3 separate regions of the Homo sapiens genome follow, and all the other regions are linked to region 2. The links are contacts of gene promoters, found by promoter capture Hi-C in blood cells and fetal thymus (Javierre and others, 2016). All regions are on one chromosome and are shown on one strand. The core of a region is centred on a gene start or on the middle of the fragment in contact, and the rest is flanking DNA. Distances in the headings are between cores, read along the strand shown.

Region 1 (3,852 bases), core at 499-2,998, 200 kb after region 2:
AAAATGAGTTCCACTTCCTGAAAGTCCCGCAGTCTTCGAATGTCTTTGTCCTTAATGTAGAAAAGAAATTATATTATGCTTAATAAATTTGAATGTAATAGAAAACCTTAATATTAATATTGTTCAGCATCTTGGGTTCTGAACCCATAAGGTATTGTTTTTTTTGAGACAGAGTCTTGCTTTTGTCGCCCAGGCTGGAGGGCAATGATGCGATCTTGGCTCACTGCAACCTCCGCCTCCCAGGTTCAAGTGATTCTCCTGCCTCACTTGGCTCACTGCAACCTCAGCCTCCTGAGTAGCTGGGATTCAGACATGCGCCATCATGCCCGGCTAATTTTTGTATTTTTTATAGAGACAGTTTTCACCATGTTGGCCAGGCTGGTCTTGAACTCCTGACTTCAGGTGATCTGCCCACCTGGGCCTCCCAAAATGCTGGGATTACAGGTGTGAGCCACTGCGCCCGGTCCCCATAAGATAGTTCTGTATTTTTTTTTTTGAGACAGGGTCTCGCTCTGTCACCTAACCTGGAGTGCAGTGGCACAGTCACAGCTCACTGCAGCTTCAACCTCCTAGGCTCAAGCAATCCTTCCACTTCCACTGCAGCCTCCCAAGTCTACTACACCCAGCTAATTTTTGTATTTTCCTGTAGAGACAGGGTTTCACCATGTTGCCCAGGCTGGTCTCAAATTCCTGAGCTCAAGCAATCCGCCCACCTCGGCCTCCCAAAGTGCTGGGATTACAAGCATGAGACACCACACCCAGCAGATTTTTGTTGTTAAGGTATCTGGAAAGCATGATCATCCCTTGACATGTTAGTTTACAAAGAATATACACTATAAGCCAAGACACCAGTAAGGATTGCCAAAGGAACAGCAGCTCACCACCTGTTATCCCAGCACTTAGGAGGATGAGGCCAGGGGGTTGAGAACAGCCTGGGCAATATAGCCAGACCCATTTCAAAAAAAAGAAATTAATGGAGTGTGGTGGTGTGTCCCTGTAGTCCCAACTACTCTGGAGGCTAAGATGGGAGGATCACTTGAGCTGAGGATTTCGAGGCTGCAGTGAGCTATGATCACGCCATTGCATTCTATTGTGGGTGACAGAGACCCTGTCTCAAAAAAACAAAAAACAAAAAAATTGCCAAAGGAATTTTGAAAGCTTTAAAGAAAAATTTCCAAAGAAATAAGATTTCCTTTCCAAAATTAAAAATTAAGATCTGTATTTTAAATCTGGGAAATATATAAAAATGCAAAACAATTTTTGTTTGCTAATATTTCAAATACTTAGCAAACCCACCCTTTGCTAAGCAAACAAGGATGGGTTTGTGTTTTTTTTTTTCCTGAGGACTATGCCATTTTATGTTAACCAGTCAATTTTGCAGAGATTGGTGGGGCCAAAAGCACTGAACTAAAGCCTTAAATTGGGGAGTCACTTGTCATTCAGAGGTTTGTTTTTTTTTGAGACAGGGTCTAGCTCTGTCGCCAGGCTGGAGTGCAGTGGTGCTATCTCAGCTCACTGCAACCTCCTCCTCCTGGGTTCAAGCAATTCTCCTGCCTCAGCCTCCTGAGTAGCTGGGATTACAGGCACGCGCTGCCATGCCCAGCTAATTTTTGTATTTTTAGTAGAGACGGGTTTTCACCGTGTTGGCCAGGATAGTCTCGATCTCTTGACCTTGTGATCTGCCCACCTCGGCCTCCCAAAGTGCTGGGATTGTACTGGTGTGAGCCACCGTGATCGGACCATTTAGAGGTTTTTAAAAGGTTTATGGATTAGATGTGCAAATCTTAAAAGCGCCAGATTGAAAATGACCTAGCTACCATGTTTGGCCGTTTTGCAGCCAGGATTTCTGGTGTCATGAAATGCAGAAGTGTAAACGATTGGCTCCAGAGAACATGATGTCACCCACTGTGATTCTGCATTTAGAAACTCTTAACCCTTACCTTTCTGAGCAGTGTGTTTGGTAGCTTTCTGATCTTCTCCACTCGTTCTGGTTTAATCCCCAGTTCACAGCAACTCACGTTTAGTAGGTTTTGGTAACTCAGTTCTTGTCTCTTCAGTTCAATTTCAATGAAGTCATTTTCTTTGGGGTTCTGAATTCTGACTTTAAACACAAGCTCTAAATCACCCATAAATTCAAATACAGTTTGTAAAGGAAACAAAATACCTGTCAGAGATTTTCATATCTATTATTACAGCATAAATAATCCTAAAAACTGAATGTTAAGTAGACATGGAGCTTTCATGGGCACATACACACTTTGCATTAGCTGAGGGTTCTTTTCTTGGAGTGTTGGGCAAGCTCTGGGATGTATGCCCCCATTATATCCACTGAAGACAGAAAGCTTGCAGCTTTAAGCCAGCCAAGGATTTAAAATATGCAATGGATATTTAAACACATCACCCTTGGGCAATACATAGCAGGTGCTCATACCTTGTTGCTTATCTGGAAAGCTTCAGGGAAATGTATAGCCCTGGGGGCCCTGGTGTCCTTAAAGAAGCTATTGTGCAGAGGAGCAAATCGCTCTTGAGATTCCTACCCACCACCCCCACTCCTCCAGAAATAGGATAATTCTACCATCTTTCAGGACAGTGGCATTGTATTCCAACTTAACTGTCCTGAGAAGATACAGTATGAACTAAAAGTCCAAATGGAAAGCAGATGGTCAGTTTGGCTTTGCAACCTGGTCACATAGGGGCTGAGTCTTCACCTAGACAGGTGTCACTGGGTTTCTTGTTATCACTTGGGTCCGTTGTTGGCAAGTGTGGATTTGTGCCTTCTTGTTTATATTCACCTGGGAATCAGGAAAGAGTTGAGAAGGAGCAGTACCTGACCAGTTGGCTGTCTGCCAGACAAAGGACAAGGATGCCCCACTTCCACTTCCTGCCCTGCAGCTTATCCTCCCCTTCTCAAGGGAAAAGGCAAGTCAGGAAAAGGGCAGTAATGACTTTCAGTCTTGAAGAGTAATTTTCTTTAATCACCACCCAAATCATGAAAAGGAGCTGAGACAGTATTTTTAAATGGTGCGTAATCTGGGGAAGAAATATTTATAATCTCTGTGCTTAGCTCAAGTTTTTACTTAAATATTTTTGGCACAGAGTGCTTTATGTCTTCAGTTCTCTAGCAGAGATACAGTTAGGAGGGTGTCTTTATAAGGAGAAATTTTCTCACCCAGAGGGAAGGGAAAGGAGTGAATATTTAGAGTGCTTTGCATATGCCAGGCCTTTTGTGTATTTCTTTCTTTCTTACAATATCCACTGAACATGTTGAAAGCCTGCTTTGCACCAGGCACTGGGCTAAGCCCTGGGGAAATCATGTTCAAAAATCCCAAAGATGTCTCTGTGCTCCTGGAGTTTGCAGGCCAGCAGAAGAGACAGATATTAATAAATGGGAAATCACAGTTGTCGGGGCATGATGAATGTGAAATACACAGTACTTTGAAAGCATGTTAGGGGTCAAGGGAGGCCTCCATGAAGGTTGATTATTTGAGCTGACATCTGAAGGATGAATAGGCTTCACTAGATCCAGAGGGCAGAGGAGGTGAAGAGCTTTTCACAGGGCCCTGTGGAGAGTTCAGCATGGCTGCAGGGCAGAGAGCATGGGGGGACTGAGTGTCAGACAGGCTGGCAGGGGCCAGTTAGTCCAATTATGTAGCTTCTTGTCACATGAGATAAGATACACGATAAGGTAAAATATACCCTGGATTTTGGAGGCAATAAAAAATTTTCATACTTATATGTTGACATAATGATTTGCATATAGCGGGCAAAGTATATTATTAAAATTAGTTTCACCTGTTTTTACTTTTTAAAACATGGCTACTAGCAATTTTAAATTACATATGTGGCTTGCAT
Region 2 (3,937 bases), core at 1,438-3,937:
CTTTGTTTCCCTTTCCCTGCCTGAGGTCATTCATTCACCTAACAACTTTGTGCCCGACACTAGACAAGGCCCTAGTGAGCAAAATGAACATAGCCCCTCTGGGAACACAGAGCCTAGATAGGGAGATGATCATTTCATTACTGCAAACACAAACATATAATCCCAGCCTGGGCTAAGTGCTGTGAAGTTCCAGACTTGTGTCTGGCTCGGTGCTGTATCCTAAGCACCTTGGCACTTAAGTGGCATTGAAATACTTGCTGGAAAGAAGGCCACTCTGAGGAGGTGATGTCAGAGCTGAGGCTTGGAGGGCTGGAGTTAAATAAAGATGGTTTCAGGTCTTCTTTGCCTTCCCTGTAGGTTCTGCCTCTGCCTCCTCTCTGGCACTCAGGCTAAGGGTAAGCATCTCCGACTGGCCATCAGCCCCAACATGCCGAGTACAGGGATCAGATCCTGTCTTGCGTGGCCGGTCTCCCCTAGGTCCTGAACCCAGGGAAGTGCATGTGGATCTCAATTTATCTAGATGGTGCGTTTGTGCCTGCCCTCCTTTCGGGCATGTTCTAGAACAGAGTTCAGTCCAGAGCCCAGGGGTGGCCGGGATGATGGATGAGGGTGTGGGGCCTGCTGACCACCAGGGGACCTGATCATTGGGCTGGGCCAGCCTCTCTGTCCTCATTTTCCCCTCTGCAAAGAAGGGGTGTTGGGCGTCCCTACTTCTCGCGCCAGCCCCGGGGCCTCTATCCTGGCGGGAAGGGCAGGCCGACCCGGCAGACTGCGGCCTCTCGGGAGGGAAGAAGGTGTCAGACGCGCGGAGCAACCATAAATAGCCCCCCTTTCCCAGAAGACGGCACGGGGTTCAAGACTCAGGCGCCGCATACTCAGAATGAGAGCAGAGACTCCCGCCAGGAAAAAAAGGCACTTAGGGGATCTGCTCATTAGCATGAAATGCAAATGAGCCCGCCCGGCCTCATTTACACAACTCTGTGCATGGATTCGGCGAAAGGGCAACCAGGGAGACGACGGCGCAGCAGCCACTCTGCCACTTCCCCCATCCCCTCCCCCCATCGGCCGGGGCGGGAACTGAGACGACCCCAACCCTCTGCGGTGGCGGGAGGTGCGCGGGGGCTGCGTGGGTGGTGCAGCCTTAGGAGAGTGAACAACGCCCAGGGGTGATGGCCTCAGCAAAGTGAGGGGTGGTGATGGAGGTCATCCGACCCATCCCGCCGCCTCTCCGCAGTGGCGCAAGCGCCCCAAAATCTCCGGAGAGGGAACTGACTGACCCACTAGGTTCCGCCGTGTCTACCTCTCGCAGATGTTGGGGAAGTGCTTCCCGGCGTCTAATCCTCGCTGTTCCCCCCTCCACCGGCGCCCAGCACACCCGCGGCGCTCCGCTCCCGGGTACCCACAGCTTTCTGGAGTGGCGCCGGCGGCAGGAGAGAGCTAGAGCCGACTGAGCCCCAGAACTCGGGGAGGTAGGCGGGGCAAGGGCCGGGGTCTGCGCGTGCGTGTGCACGCGTGGAAAGCACAAACCCACGAGGGCCCGCTGCCGGTAGGGTTAAGGTGAGTGAGTGAAGGCGGCAGACCCGCGAAGTTCCAGTTCCGCGGACACTCTTTCCCTAAGCCACATAGGGACTTAAGAGAAACTGAGGCACGAAGTTGGGGGGTGGCGGTGGTGGGGACTTTGAAGGTCGAGTCGATAAAGCCCAGCTCTGTGCTTCCGCCCCCTCCCACACACTCGAGACCCCCACAGGTTCCTTCTTAGGGGTCCTCGCTCTGCTCCGCAGCCCCTCCTGGGGATCCGGGCTCTGCGGTCCAGCGCGACCTGCCTGGGGCCACGTGTTCAAGCACGAAGCCCCTGCGTGGAGTCCACGCCCTTCAAAAGGTCCCTAGGGGCAAAGGGATGAAGCCCAGGAGCGTCAATGTGAGGTCAGGTCCAGCGGGTTAGGGTTACGAGGTCAGGGTCGAAGTCTCAGAATTGACTCGGGAGTATGACCAATAAGCCCAAGAGATTTGTGGAGGCCACGCCCAGACCATGCCTACCCTAGCCTTTCTCGAGCTCCGCCCGTTTCTCCAAGACTGGGCCCCTCCAGCCTGAAGCCCCACCCCCAGGACATCCAGCTCCGCTCCTTCCCTCCCCCAGTCCCGCAGCCAAGCTCAACTCCAGGGTGGGAGATTAACCAGGTGGAGACCTGGGATTTCGCTCTGGGACCCCCTGGTGACAACCCTCACCCCCGTGCCGCCTGTCTCCTTTCTTCCCCAGGCCCGCCCAGAGCTGAGCTCCGTCCTCCGGCTGCTGCCCAAATCAGGGGTCGTGGACAAAGGATGCCTGGGGCCTGCGGCCCTACGCCAGGACCCCGCGCCGAATACTCTGATTCTTCGGGCTCCCTCCAAGGGAGTCCCAAAGACCCCAATGGCCAATAGGAAAGTGGGTTCGGTCTGGGCAGCAGTCTGATTGGCTCCAGCCTTCGGGAGCGGACCCAGGGGCAAGGGGAGGGGAGAGGGGCGGTCCTGGGTTTTGGGGTGGGAATCGGATTCCAGCTGTGGTTCTCTCCCTGCGCTCCCGCCCGCACTGCCACGGCGGACGGCCAATGGGCGCGCGGCTCGGGGCCGGCGGCGTCCGGCGATTGGCTGCGGGGCTGTCTGGGGGCGGGGCCGAGGCTTGAAGTTGAAGTGAGGGATCCAGCTGTGGTGTGCGCGGGGCTCCTCGCCGCCGCTTTCGCTCGCTCGCTCCGCGTCTCGGCCGGAGGAGGAGGCTGTGGCGCCGGCGACAGCTACGGCAGCGGCAGCCACCGCGGCGGCTGCGGCGGCGGCATCTCCGCCTCCACTCCCGCCCGGGACTGCCCCCCACTGTCTCCCCGCCCCTCCCGGACAGTGAGCCCGCGGCGGGGCGGGGGAAGGAGCCGCCCCCACCCCCTCCAAGCCCACCCCTAAAGAGATCCCTCCTCCCCTCCCCCGCCGCCTGGCGCGGAGCCGGGACGATGCTGACCCCTTAGATCCGGCTCCAGCTGCGCCGCGGGAAGAGGGGGCGCCCCTCCCCGGACCCCCGCCCTCCGCCGCTGCCCCCCTTTTCGTTCGCCCTCTCGGGGCGGCTTCGCCGAAGGTAGCGCCGAATCCGGCAACCGGAGCCTGGGCGCGAAGCGAAGAAGCCGGAACAAAGTGAGGGGGAGCCGGCCGGCTGGCCCGGGAAGCCCCAGGGGCGCAGGGGAAGCGGGACTCGCGCCGGGCGGGGTTTCCCTGCGCCCCGGCGCCCCGCGGGCAGCATGCCCCTGCGGGCAGGGGGAGCTGGGCTGAACTGGCCCTCCCGGGGGCTCAGCTTGCGCCCTAGAGCCCACCAGATGTGCCCCCGCCGGGGCCCCCGGGTTGCGTGAGGACACCTCCTCTGAGGGGCGCCGCTTGCCCCTCTCCGGATCGCCCGGGGCCCCGGCTGGCCAGAGGATGGACGAGGAGGAGGATGGAGCGGGCGCCGAGGAGTCGGGACAGCCCCGGAGCTTCATGCGGCTCAACGACCTGTCGGGGGCCGGGGGCCGGCCGGGGCCGGGGTCAGCAGAAAAGGACCCGGGCAGCGCGGACTCCGAGGCGGAGGGGCTGCCGTACCCGGCGCTGGCCCCGGTGGTTTTCTTCTACTTGAGCCAGGACAGCCGCCCGCGGAGCTGGTGTCTCCGCACGGTCTGTAACCCATATCCTTCGGGGCACGACGGCCAGGCGCGGGGTCAGAAGGGGGACGGGCCGCACCGCCGGGGGTCGGGGGGGAAGAAGACCCACCGCCAGGTGAGTCGAAGTGAGCCCGGAGGGTAGGCGGATGGGGGGGGGGCTGCCAGGGAGGGGAGGGGGCACCAGAGTGGGAGCGGAGACGCGAGCAGGTCTCGTCGGTAACCCGGGCTTACCCCACCTGCGTACACACACCTCAGTCTTCCTGGGTTGGGGGGGTGGGGATCCAGGC
Region 3 (4,068 bases), core at 1,396-3,895, 240 kb after region 2:
CGCTTGTGCCATTATCATTCTCAGGCTTGTTTCTTGCAGCATTAACTGATCCTGTCTAATACAGACAGCCACAAAGCCGTTAGGTCCTGAGATCTCTTAGCTTTCATCTCCGGCTATTCTGTATCTGTTCAGCAGTTTTGACTCCCCCTAGCCTGGAGCTGATGTGGAATTTGAACTCTCACGAGGCACAAGCCAAGTCATTTTCTTTGGATGATTATGTTCTGATGTGCTGATGTACCATCTTGGGGAGCCAGACCCTGTAAAGTGGTTCATCCCCCCGCTTTACTGTGGGTGTAATTGTGCCTGGGGTGTTGACCTCAGCTAGGACCAACTTTCTCCAAATAGACAGGGGCAGAGGTCACCTGTGCTGGCTTCCTGTTGCAATTTTATGTCCCCACCAGAGCACAAATAGCACTCCCCTAGGTGAAGTGGCTCAGGAACAAGGAGGACAGACAGAAATGGGTTTCTCAGCTCCTGGCAGCTCATGCTGCTACCAGGCCTTTCTCCTTCTCTAGGAGGCTGGCTGTGAGGCAGGAGGGGAAGAAAAAAGGTGACAGTGTTTCACTTTTGTTTTGTTTTGTTTTTTTGAGACAGGGTCTTGCTCTGTGGCCCAGGCTGGAGTGCAGTGGCACAATCATGGCTCACTGAAGCTTCAACCTCCCATCCTCAAGCAATCCTCCTGCCTCAGCCTCCCAAGTAGCTGGGACCACAGGCGTGCGCCACAACACTCGGCTAATTTTTTATTTTTAGTAGAGACAAGATCTCACTATGTTGCCCAGGCTGGTCTCCAACTCCAGGGCTCAAGTGATCCGCCCACCTTGGCATCCCAAATGCTGGGATTAGAGGCGGGAGCCACCGTGCCTGGCTGTAGGTGTTTCTTGTGTCTCTGGTGAACCCTAGGAAGTATACTCAAACGAGTCAAAACCAAACCAAACAACAGGCCCCGATTGGAAGGACACCAGGAAGCTGAGAATGGCAGCAACTGGGGTGTCTCTGAAGACCTCACAGGCCACCGTTAGAGACCCAGCCCCTGTGGGCTTCAGCAGCTCCAGGCCACCTCCTTCCAGTCCTGCCCCCTGCACCTGTGAGGCAAGCTTGGCAGAAAAGTCCGGAGAAAGAGATCCAAAGGGTCTGGCTTGTAACCTCTTTAGGTGGGAGAAACGAGTTCAGTTTGAATCACAGGCCTCACCCTGCAGCCTGCGGCAGAGTCTTGGGGAAAGAAAGAAGCTTTGCTTTCATTAAAACTCAGAAACAGCCAGAGGCACCTTTTTCTTAAAGCCAGTATCTGCAGAGAAAAACAGCAGACTGGTCTCGCTTAGTAAGTGAAACAGAGGGACCTAGTTTAGATGGGGAAAAAGAAACACAAAACAAAGGACAAGAACCCAGTGAGTTTGCTGAGCGTATTTGCAGCTGAAGTGATTGACAGTGGGTGCAGGTCCTGAACCATGACTGTGTCCTGTGCTATCGAGCTTCATTTCACTCAGTTACCTAAAGTGTGTTCTACATCCTCGAGATTTATAATGATGATAATGGGGATGATAATGACTCATGTATTTTATTGTTCCTACTTTTCAGGCACAGTTTTTTGTTTGTTTGTTTGTTTTTGAGATGGAGTCTCGCTCTGTCGCCCAAGCTAGAGTGCAGTGGCAGATCTCAGCTCATTGCAAGCTCCGCCTCCCAGGTTTAAGCGATTTGCAGCTAATTTTTTGCATTTTTAGTAGAGACAGGGTTTCACCATGTTGGCCAGGCTGGTCATGAACTCCTGACCTCAAGTGATTCGCCTTCCCTGGCCTCCTAAAGTGCTGGGGTTACAGGCGTGAGCCACCACGCCCGGCATCAGGCACAGTTTTTAAGTGAGTTATATGTCGTAAATCCTCAAAATATTCCTATGGAGTAAGTACTATTATCCCATTGTACAGATGAGGAACCCGAGGCACAAAGTTATATGAAAAAGGCTCTGTAGAAAAAAATTAGAACAACAAAAATTATCTTTTTCTCTCTCTTTTTTTTTTGTTGTTTTTGCTTTTTTGGTTTTTTTTTTATGGAGATGAGGGTCCCACTATGTTGCCCAGGCTGGTCTCGAACTCCTAGGCTTCACGATCCTCCTGCTTCGGCCTTCCAAAGTGCTGGGATTACAAGCATGAGCCTCTGCACCTGGCCACTCATCCTTGTGTATGGAGTGGCTGGACAAAACACAAAGTCACTTAAGATAGACACTGAAGAGTCTACTTTAATTGCACATAGGGCCTTTGCCTAATGAGTCACATAATCGGGGCTCCGTGGAGTCATTAATATTTCACATCTTTTCCCATCAGCACAAAGTAAACACTATTTTAATAACCGCAATACTGCTTCTTTTTTTGGGCCCAGGAAATTGCTTGGTTCATTGTTCCATTTTAGAAAAGATTAAACAAAATTGATTTTCATAATTGTCATTCTGTACTTTTTTTTTGAGACAGAGTTTCACTCTTGTTGCCTATGCTGGAGTGTGATGGCGCAATCTCAGCTCACCGCAACCTCCACCTCCACCTCCCGGATTCAAGCGATTCTCCTGCCTCGGCCTCCCAAGTAGCTGGGATTACGGGCATGCACCACCACACCTGGCTACTTTTGTATTTTTAGTAGAGATGGGGTTTCTCCATGTTGGCCAGGCTGGTCTTGAACTCTCGACCTCAGGTGATCTGCCCGCCTTGGCCTTCCAAAGTGGTGGGATTACAGGCGTGAGCCACCGTGCCCTACAGTTTTTTTTTTTATTTTTTAGACAGAGTCTGGACAGAGTTTTGCCCTGTCATCCAGGCTAGAGTGCAGTGGTGTGATTTCGGCTCACTGCAATCTCCACCCCCCAGATTCAAGCAATTCTGCCTCAGCCTCCTGAGTAGCTGGGACTACAGGCGCACACCACCATGACCAGCTAACTTTTGTATTTTTAGTAGAGACAGGGTTTCACCATGTTGGCCAGGCTGGTCTTGAACTCCTGACCTCCAGTGATCCCCTGCCTCAGCCTCCCAAAGTGCTGGGATTACAGGTGTGAGCCACCACACCTGGACTCATTCTGTACTACTCGTCCCCAAGGGGAAATCTTATACTTTCTGATTCCACAATAAGTTCTGAGGAGGAGGTGAGGAGGGTTGCTGGTCAGACAGACACTGGGGAATCTACCTAGGAAGTGTCAATAGCCAGTTCAGCACACGCAGAAGTCCTGGCTGGACAGAGGAGGGCCCAGGTGTTCTGCATGTGGGAACACAGTCCTTAGGAACAGCTGGCTTGGAGGCGATGCTGCCTAAGCCAGCAACTTTTTCCAGGCCCCACTGGACGGCACCCAAGGACGTTATCCAGGCGAATGGTGACTCCCTGCAGGATCCATTCATTAGCCACATGGGGTGGGGGGAATGACATGGGGTGGGGGGAATCCCACAAGCCAAGGGTCAGTTACCAGGTGCAAACTGTCCAAGGAACACCTGGAGAACTTTCTTGCACTTTCTGACCTCCAGGGTCTCGACAAGCCTGGGCGTGCCCCAGAGGTCCAGTTTTTATGAATATTGGAGCTCCATGCTGTTCATCCAGGAAGCTCAAAGTTAAATGAAACACCTGGGGACCCCACAGAGTTATTATATTGTGGGGGGGTGCTAGTCTGGGCCCAGGCAGGATGCCCCATTTTCTCCACTTCAGGGAGCACCTGGGATTTGTGGTGGGAGATGGAGCTGCCCCCGTGAGGACTCTGGCTTGAAAGTGACAAAATCCAACATGAGCCAGCTTGGGCAGAAAGGGGGAATTTGCTAGAATCAACCAAAAACTTCAGCTGCACACTTGGCCGCTCCGCATGTGGGAAAGGCTGAGCTGCAGAGACCCTGCATCAGGTAGGGTTCCGGGATGGCATGGCAGCCCCACTAGGGCCACGTGGTTGGAATAGGGGGAGAAGCTGCCCCCAGGAAGAAAGGGTGTTCCCTGAAGAGGGCATGCGGCAGATCAAGAGGCAAATGTGCGCCTCACCAAGGAACTTGGCTTAGCGTTGCCAAATTTTCTCTGTGTTGGATTAGGGTCAAACTCTTGTTTGACTTGGCACAGAAG

What was found. Contacts are between HindIII fragments. The CHiCAGO score rates a contact against its expected background, and 5 or more counts as called.
Region 1: a contact is called between a fragment that was not itself captured here and the fragment with the promoter of CACNA1G in region 2, in 6 of 17 cell types (M0 macrophages, M1 macrophages, monocytes and 3 more). The highest score is 12.9, in M0 macrophages.
Region 3: a fragment that was not itself captured here is called in contact with the fragment with the promoter of CACNA1G in region 2 in 7 of 17 cell types (M0 macrophages, M1 macrophages, endothelial precursors and 4 more); the score reaches 7.3 in M0 macrophages.

The regions. Positions count from the first base shown.
Region 1 is chr17:50,761,457-50,765,308 of GRCh38, forward strand. ANKRD40CL (ANKRD40 C-terminal like) reads right to left here. Exons shown (of 4, transcript NM_001358683.3): 3 at 1,941-2,101; 4 at 1-50. Among named protein-coding and RNA genes, the nearest start is that of ANKRD40CL, 4.1 kb to the right of the region's middle. The HindIII fragment of the contact is 1,184 bases long and covers 1,157-2,340 here.
Region 2 is chr17:50,558,028-50,561,964 of GRCh38, forward strand. CACNA1G (calcium voltage-gated channel subunit alpha1 G) reads left to right here and starts at 2,688. Exons shown (of 38, transcript NM_018896.5): 1 at 2,688-3,674. The coding sequence starts at 3,433. It overlaps CACNA1G-AS1 (CACNA1G antisense RNA 1), which reads right to left. Exons shown (of 2, transcript NR_038439.1): 1 at 3,901-3,937. RefSeq lists enhancers at 2,238-2,287, 3,647-3,937 and a silencer at 2,508-2,887. The HindIII fragment of the contact is 9,044 bases long and covers 1-3,937 here.
Region 3 is chr17:50,802,444-50,806,511 of GRCh38, forward strand. No RefSeq gene overlaps it. Among named protein-coding and RNA genes, the nearest start is that of WFIKKN2, 31 kb to the right of the region's middle. RefSeq lists a silencer at 3,724-3,945. The HindIII fragment of the contact is 2,841 bases long and covers 1,226-4,066 here.